Linked DNA regions of Homo sapiens: region 1 is linked to region 2. The links are contacts of gene promoters, found by promoter capture Hi-C in human tissues and cell types (Jung and others, 2019). All regions are on one chromosome and are shown on one strand. The core of a region is centred on a gene start or on the middle of the fragment in contact, and the rest is flanking DNA. Distances in the headings are between cores, read along the strand shown.

Region 1 (3,524 bases), core at 103-2,602, 130 kb after region 2:
GCCCCATATCTTGTGGAACTGCACTCTTCAGACCCTGATCCTGGGGAGCATATCCCAGGCAGTCTCTGAGCCATGCTCCTCCCCACACTCTGGACCCTCACAAAGGCCATTCCAAGTCTCACCCCTCCCGCAGATCTCTATTCTCCTGTTTCCCTCTCTGCTCTGCCATCTTGCTTGTTACTTGCATCTGCAACTTGGCCCAGGGTTCTCCATGCATGGCGATGTTGGAGGAGACTTGTCTCCCTCATTAGCCGGGGGTTTCCTCTAGGGTGAGGCCTGTACCTCCGTCAGATTGGCAAAGGCATCTCTTCTCTCTCTGGACCCTCTGGCACCCAGCAAAGGGCCTGCCTCCTAAGACACAGAGTAGCTACTGTCCAGTTTGACTCTAGGTAGGAAACATTTCTGATCGCTTATTCTTGGGGAAGGAGCCTGACTTTGGAGGTTTATGTGAGCATCCTGCAGCAGGGTGTGTATAGGATCCTATTATCTAATTCTATAGGAGATCTCAAGAGAAACCCCTCTCCTACTAACGACCCCATCCTGTAGACATGGCTTCACCCTAAGATTACAAGCCCTAGAACCCCCAATTTATAGTCTTCTAAGCATTGTTGCTCCACCCACCCCCCCAACACAAATGCAGGTATGTAGGCCCCAGAGAGCCTTTCTCCCCTCACCAGGGCAGTCTGACTCCAGCCTGAGGCCGGGCTTGTCAGCAGCATCGTCTGGAATGAAAAAGGGGGATAAAGGTCAGAGTCTAGTCTGAGGCAGCCCCATTGTCCTGAGCATACCTCTGAGCAGGGGCTTGCAAGGTGGCAGACATGTGAGGTCACCTCCCAAGTGGGGTATAGGTCTGACCTCTTAGCACTGCATTCTCCCTGGACCAGCCTCCTCAGCTCCACTTCTGATCCCAGTTCCAACTGGTAGAGCCAGGCACACTCCTTCTCCACGTGTCTAAACCTCCCGGTTGACCCTGTGATAAAAAAGATATAGGCAACTGGTAAGAGGAGAGGGTGAGTGTATTAGAGTCTAGAGCACTGGTTTTTAAACTTTTTGACCTCAGGACCACTTTACATTCTAAAAAGTTACTGAAGACTCCAAAGAGCTTTGGTTTGTGTGGGTTCTATCTATGAACATTTACTGTGTTAGAAATGAACACTGGGACACATGAAATAATTATTAATTTTTGCATGTTAACAAAATGACGTATTTTTAATGAAAAACAGCTGTATTAAAGTAAACAAAAAGTTAATAAGAAGAGTGACATTGTCTTATATTTTCACAAGTCTTTTTAAACATCTGGCTTAATCAAAGACAGTTGCTTTCTCATCTGCTTCTGCATTTAGTGTGTTGCAATATCATAGGTCATGTACCTTCTGGAAAACTCTACTGAACACTGTGAAATAATGAAAGTGAAAAGGGCAAATAATGTATTGTTAGCATTATTATGAAGATAGGTTTGACTTTGTAGAGCCTCCGAAAGGGTCTCAGGAACCCTCCGAAAGGGTCCAGGGACCATACTTTGAGAACTGCTAGTCTAGAGGAACCTTAGAAGACAGTTTCAAAAACCTGGGCCAATTTGAATATCCTCGTTGATTTCCTTCAGCTGCCATGGTCTTTTGAATGTTCTCACCAGGGAGGTAGTATGGGGTAGTGGTTCATCATGTTAAGTTCTGCCTCTGTTCTACTACTCACTAGCTATGTGGCCATGGGCAAATTATTAATATCTCTGTGCTTCAGTTTTCTCATCTATAAAATGGGACTTTAAAAAGCACCCACCTTTAGAGTTGTTGAGAATTAAATGACATAATAGGAAAGGGCTCAGCGTAGAGCTCAATGATGTGAGCTCTCATTAAATTCCGGAGCCTTGCCCCTGAATCCACTGCGCATTGTCCCGAAGGCAGGGAGCTGCAGAGGAGATCCATCCAATGCTACACATAGGAGCTCGGCCCAGAGAGGGAAAGTGACCTGTGCAAGTTCCCAGAGAGAGTTGACAGGGTTGTTGGGCCCCGAACCCAGGAGTTCTAAGGCCTAGCTCCATCTCTGCTCTCCCCGCCAGAATTTTTTTGTGGAGAGTGGAGGAGCAAGGTCCTAAGACGGGGAAAGAAGCAGACTTTACCTTTCTTTTCCCCAGCAATCTCAGGTGAGCCCAGGGCCAGGGCAGTACAGTGGGAAGCCTTGAGGGCAGACAGCAGGGAGAACTTCCGATACTGACAGCAACTGAAAAGAGGAGAAAGAAAGCTAGGAAGACATTTTCAAGCCCAGAGATTGTTCTGTCTTGCCGTGTGGGGAGCAGTTCTGCAAAGTGTCCCCGGCCTTCTCTTCCTGGGGCTCGTAGGAAGTCTGTGATTGGGCAACCCTGCTTCTCATGAGGTGCTCAGTCCCGCTCACTGCCCTCCTCTCAGCTCTCCCACCACCCAAGGCCCAGGAGCCCCTCCCCAGATCATGCCTTCTGGCCCTGCCCTTTGTGCTGAGGCACCACAAGGCACAACATGGTGCCTTGGAAAAGCCAGTTGGTGGTGCTGAGGGCATTAATGAGGATAGGGGTGCCTGCTGGGGTTCCCTGGGCAGGAGAAGGGAAGCTTCTCCTCACAGATTGTAGAACAGGAGGAGGCAGATGGGGAGTTAGACATATACTGGGAAGAGCTAGTCCTGGCTCATTGGCCCTTCAGTCAAATTCCCCTGAGCTGGGCTTCCAGCTCCACCTTCACTAGTTCAGGTTGAATTCCCTGGAAGAGCACAGGTGGCAGGCGACTCTTGTCCCTAACCCCTGCTTCCCCTGTAGTAGCTTCTTCAGCCTCCAGAACCAGAGCAGGTGGAGATCTCAAAGAAGGTGGCACCCCAAGGAAGTAGAACCCCAAAGACCCCAAACCCTGAGCACATGCCCTTCCTGCTGGGGTTGGGGAACTTGCTATGTATTACTCTGTTTTTCTTCTCCTGCCCACAAAATTCCTTTGCATAGATGGTAAAACTGAGGCAAAACGTGGGAGGACTTAGACTGCCCACCCACTTCTTTCTAGAGCCCAGCCTGGGACCAAGGGGCTTGGCATCCCGCAGCCCCTCCCGCTCCACTCCTACCAGTCCCCGTGGCTTTTTCCATTTGGAAAGTCCTTTCTGGCGAGTGGCAGGTTTGGAGGCCCTAGTCTAGTCTCCTCCCCTGTCTCCTGGGCAGTGCCCCCAGGGGAGCCCCTGTGGGCCAAGATCTCCTTAGTCTCAGTCCTGGGCCCCCCTCACCCTCTACCAGCAGTCCCCCAGCTCCCGCCCCTCGGCTGTGGGACAGGGAGAGGGCTGAGGGGCTGGCTCTGCATACTAATGTCCTGCCCATTGTCAAAGCCCCTTTGTGCCAGGGAGCTCCATTGAGGCGGCTCCGGGGCAGGCACAATGGGGGCTCTGTCCCCTAGTTCCCCCAAACAGTCACCTGCTTTCAGAGCCTTCCCCACCACCCCCCCTTCGCCCCAGTGTCCGGAGGGCCCAGAGAGCACGGGGGAGTGGGCCCTGGGCCAGGGGGGATGGGCAGGAGGTGACTC
Region 2 (3,128 bases), core at 365-2,864:
CCTTTCGCACTCTACTTCAGCCTGTCCTTAGGCTGTGGACAGTCACACCTGGAGGTCCCTGCCCCCATAAGCCTTCCAGCTTAGCGTTCAACCCTGATTTTCTCTGCTGTGGGCACAGCTTGCAGCTCTACCCCCACTCAGCACAGACTCAGGTACTGTGATTCTCAGAGGGGTGGGGAAGGGAGGCGGTTGGCAGGTGGATGGCCAGGGATACTGAGCACTCAGGATAAAAATACTCGGCTCATTAATCAGATGGCAGGTTCTAGCACCCAGCAGGGGTGCACAAAATGAGAGCCTGTGGTTCTGGTGTCTCACCCTGAAATGCTCCAAGCTCTGGACAAGCTGAGGCCAGAGAAGGGGCCACAGGAGCTTGGACAAGAAAACTCACATCCCATTTCCTAAAGGTGTGTGTGTATGAACACATTCCCAAACATAGGTTTTTTTTCTTTTCTTATGATAACTTCTTTCTCCTTTGGGCCTGAAGTCATTTTGGAGGTGAGGAGACTTTTCCCACAAAAAGAAGATTGGGGAAGACATTCTGACACCTCCTGCAACCATAAGAATTTTCCAGTGAGGGCATCCAGCTTATCCAATGGAGACAAATGGGGAATTAGGGAGGGGGAAGGAAGAGAGAGGGGACTGGGAGTCCAATGGGAGGCATGATCTCTAGGAGATATTTAAACATGGCATGCAAGTATCATAACATTTACATTTACACTCAGTTTGGATCTCTTTGGGGTGCAGCCCCTGAAGTATGTGGAGAGGACGTGTTCTGGCTAAGCAGATGGGTGGGGTAGGGGAGTGCAATATACACTGCTGTTCTCCCCTGGCCCTCCAAGTACCTCCCTTTTTCACCCTCAGTGTCCTAGCCAAACCTAAGTCAAATACTACCAGCCTCCTATAGCAGGGAGGGGAGCTCTTCCTGCAGCACCCCTGCTAAAGGTTTCCTGACGCTGATAGTACTTTTGGGTTCCTGAGACTCTGTTTCTCATTTGACTAAAGCCACATGCCACTTGCATCCTGTTGGTCAGGACAGGGTTCCTACCACACTGCCCCTCACCCCCAGATCCCATCCTCAAAGAGCTACATGGGTGTAGGATAGGGGATTCCGGAGAGGGGCTAGACATGCTCTGCAGGCCTGCAGTGCCCCCAACTCACCTCCAGGATCAGCTCCTCCATCTCAAATTGTCTTTGTGAGGCCTTGTCATCCTCGGGGGGTTCATGGTAGAGGAGTGCCAGCACCTCATACTTCTTGAACACATTCTTGTAGTTCTTTGCATTGACATTGATCACACGGTCCACACCATCGTACTCAGGGAAGTCCAGCCCTTCCTGCCCCTGTACCCCTGACTTGGGTGTCCCTAGCACCAGCAGCAACAGCAGTGCCAGCCGCAGACCCGGCACAGCTCTGGGCCCCATCCTGTCTGTAGCACTCATGGAGGTAGTGGGATCTGGGTTGGCTCTCCTGGTCCAGAAGAGGTTAGCTGGGGTAGGGAGGGGCCCCTGGGTCCCAGATTCTGAGTTAGGGGCTCAAGTGGGAGGGGGGATTGGGGAATGGCCCAGAGCAGTGGACAGAGGGCACTGCTGGGTCCTGGAGAAACTGCCGACAGAGCCAAGGGAAAAAGGGTCAGGTGGAGGAATAGGAGCAGGGGGCGGGGAGGGAACCGGAGCTGCCCCCTGAAATTGGCACCCCTCAGTCCCCACCTGGTCCTGTCTAAATATGTCTCCATGGTTGGCAGGAGAGACGGATAACCTTCTGAGGCCAGGACAGCTCCATGCGGGCCGGAATCCTCCCACCTCCTACACTTCTACCCCAGGCTCCCAGGGGCTCCTTCCCTCCCCCTCCTCCAGTGTCCAGGGCACCTCAGCCCCGGTCCCCACACTGGCCTAAGAGCTCATCGCCATATTAAGAAAGGAAAAGGAGAGATGCCGGAGCTAAAAATAAGACCAGATGAGTCGGAGGTAAATGAAGCTGGGGCTGGGGGAGGGGAGGTATAAGGGTAATTAGGGTGGGCCGAGGGTGGGGCAAGGGTAATTAGAAGTTAAATGCAGTGGAGAGGAGGAGCTAACTGGGTCAGAGGCTAAATTGATAATATAGGACAAAAGGGGGACAAATGTGGTATTGGCTCTATGTCCTAAAGCCTGGGAATCTTCTGTAGGTGAAGTCTGATTCTGATTCTTTGATACTATGTAGGAGAGTGGGGCGATAAAAGTGCAAGCCAGGCTGCAGGAAAGAGACCCCCTCCACTTTCTTTTAAAGAACCAGGACCAAGGATGAGGTCATTCTCTGAATAAAAGATGGAGCCGCGTCCAAGACTGGCAACCTGGCTCAGCTCCAGCCAGTTTCCTTTGCTTCACTCAGCACTCCTAACTTGGGAATGCAGGGAAGGACAGGGCTGGCCCAGATCCTGTCCTGTAGAGATGTGGGTTTGGGGTTTCTCTGCCTATAAAGCCCACAATGAGAAGGGGTCTGTCCTTTGGTTGCCACCTGTGTGTGCACTCCCTACCCTGATCCTATGGGACTCGGTTTTCTGGGGCACAGTGGGAAGGGAGGTTTTCCCAGGCTGCATGCTTCCAAGGAGAGTGAATAGCTACTATTTATTCCCATGTCTTTGACAAGACAAAGAGGATCAGGTATTGACACCAGGGCAAAAAAAAATTAACATTAGGCAAGCATGAAGAGGTGAACCCTGTGCCCTGAACCAAGACTGATGATTAATTCTGTGCACCCGAGATCCAAAGCAGAGATGGGCGGGTAGGGGCTTAAACTTCTGGATCCAGCTTGGGGGGTGAGGACAGAGTAGTGAGTTTAACTCTGGATACGTAGGAAGGAAGGATCCTCTTCATGGCCCTCCAGGGTTCTTACTATGCACAGGTAAACTGAGGCATGAGGGAGACCATAGAGGGTCAGATCAAAGTCACATGCTGCCACTGCACCCTGAGGTATCTCTGATTCTAGAGGGACAGTGGTGTTTTTTTTGTTTTGTTTTGCATCCAGGGAGGGTCATGTAATTATGTTAGCAGAATAACTTTTCCACATGTCTGTGTGGTGGACCTTACACAGCTGAACACGGAAGGCCACAGAAAATCTCAAAAGCATGGCAGGAGTGAGGCCAAGAGGGACAGCT

The links. Contacts are between HindIII fragments. The study calls those that stand out against the background at their distance.
Region 1: a contact is called between a fragment that was not itself captured here and the fragment with the promoter of CASQ1 in region 2, in 5 of the 25 tissues and cell types used here (IMR-90 fibroblasts, adrenal gland, aorta and 2 more).

What each region holds. Positions count from the first base shown.
Region 1 is chr1:160,062,182-160,065,705 of GRCh38, reverse strand. All of the region lies in intron 1 of KCNJ10 (potassium inwardly rectifying channel subfamily J member 10), which reads left to right. Among named protein-coding and RNA genes, the nearest start is that of KCNJ10, 6.2 kb to the left of the region's middle. The HindIII fragment of the contact is 5,791 bases long and covers 1-3,524 here.
Region 2 is chr1:160,189,061-160,192,188 of GRCh38, reverse strand. CASQ1 (calsequestrin 1) reads right to left here and starts at 1,614. Exons shown (of 11, transcript NM_001231.5): 1 at 1,159-1,614. The coding sequence starts at 1,437. The HindIII fragment of the contact is 26,832 bases long and covers 1-3,128 here.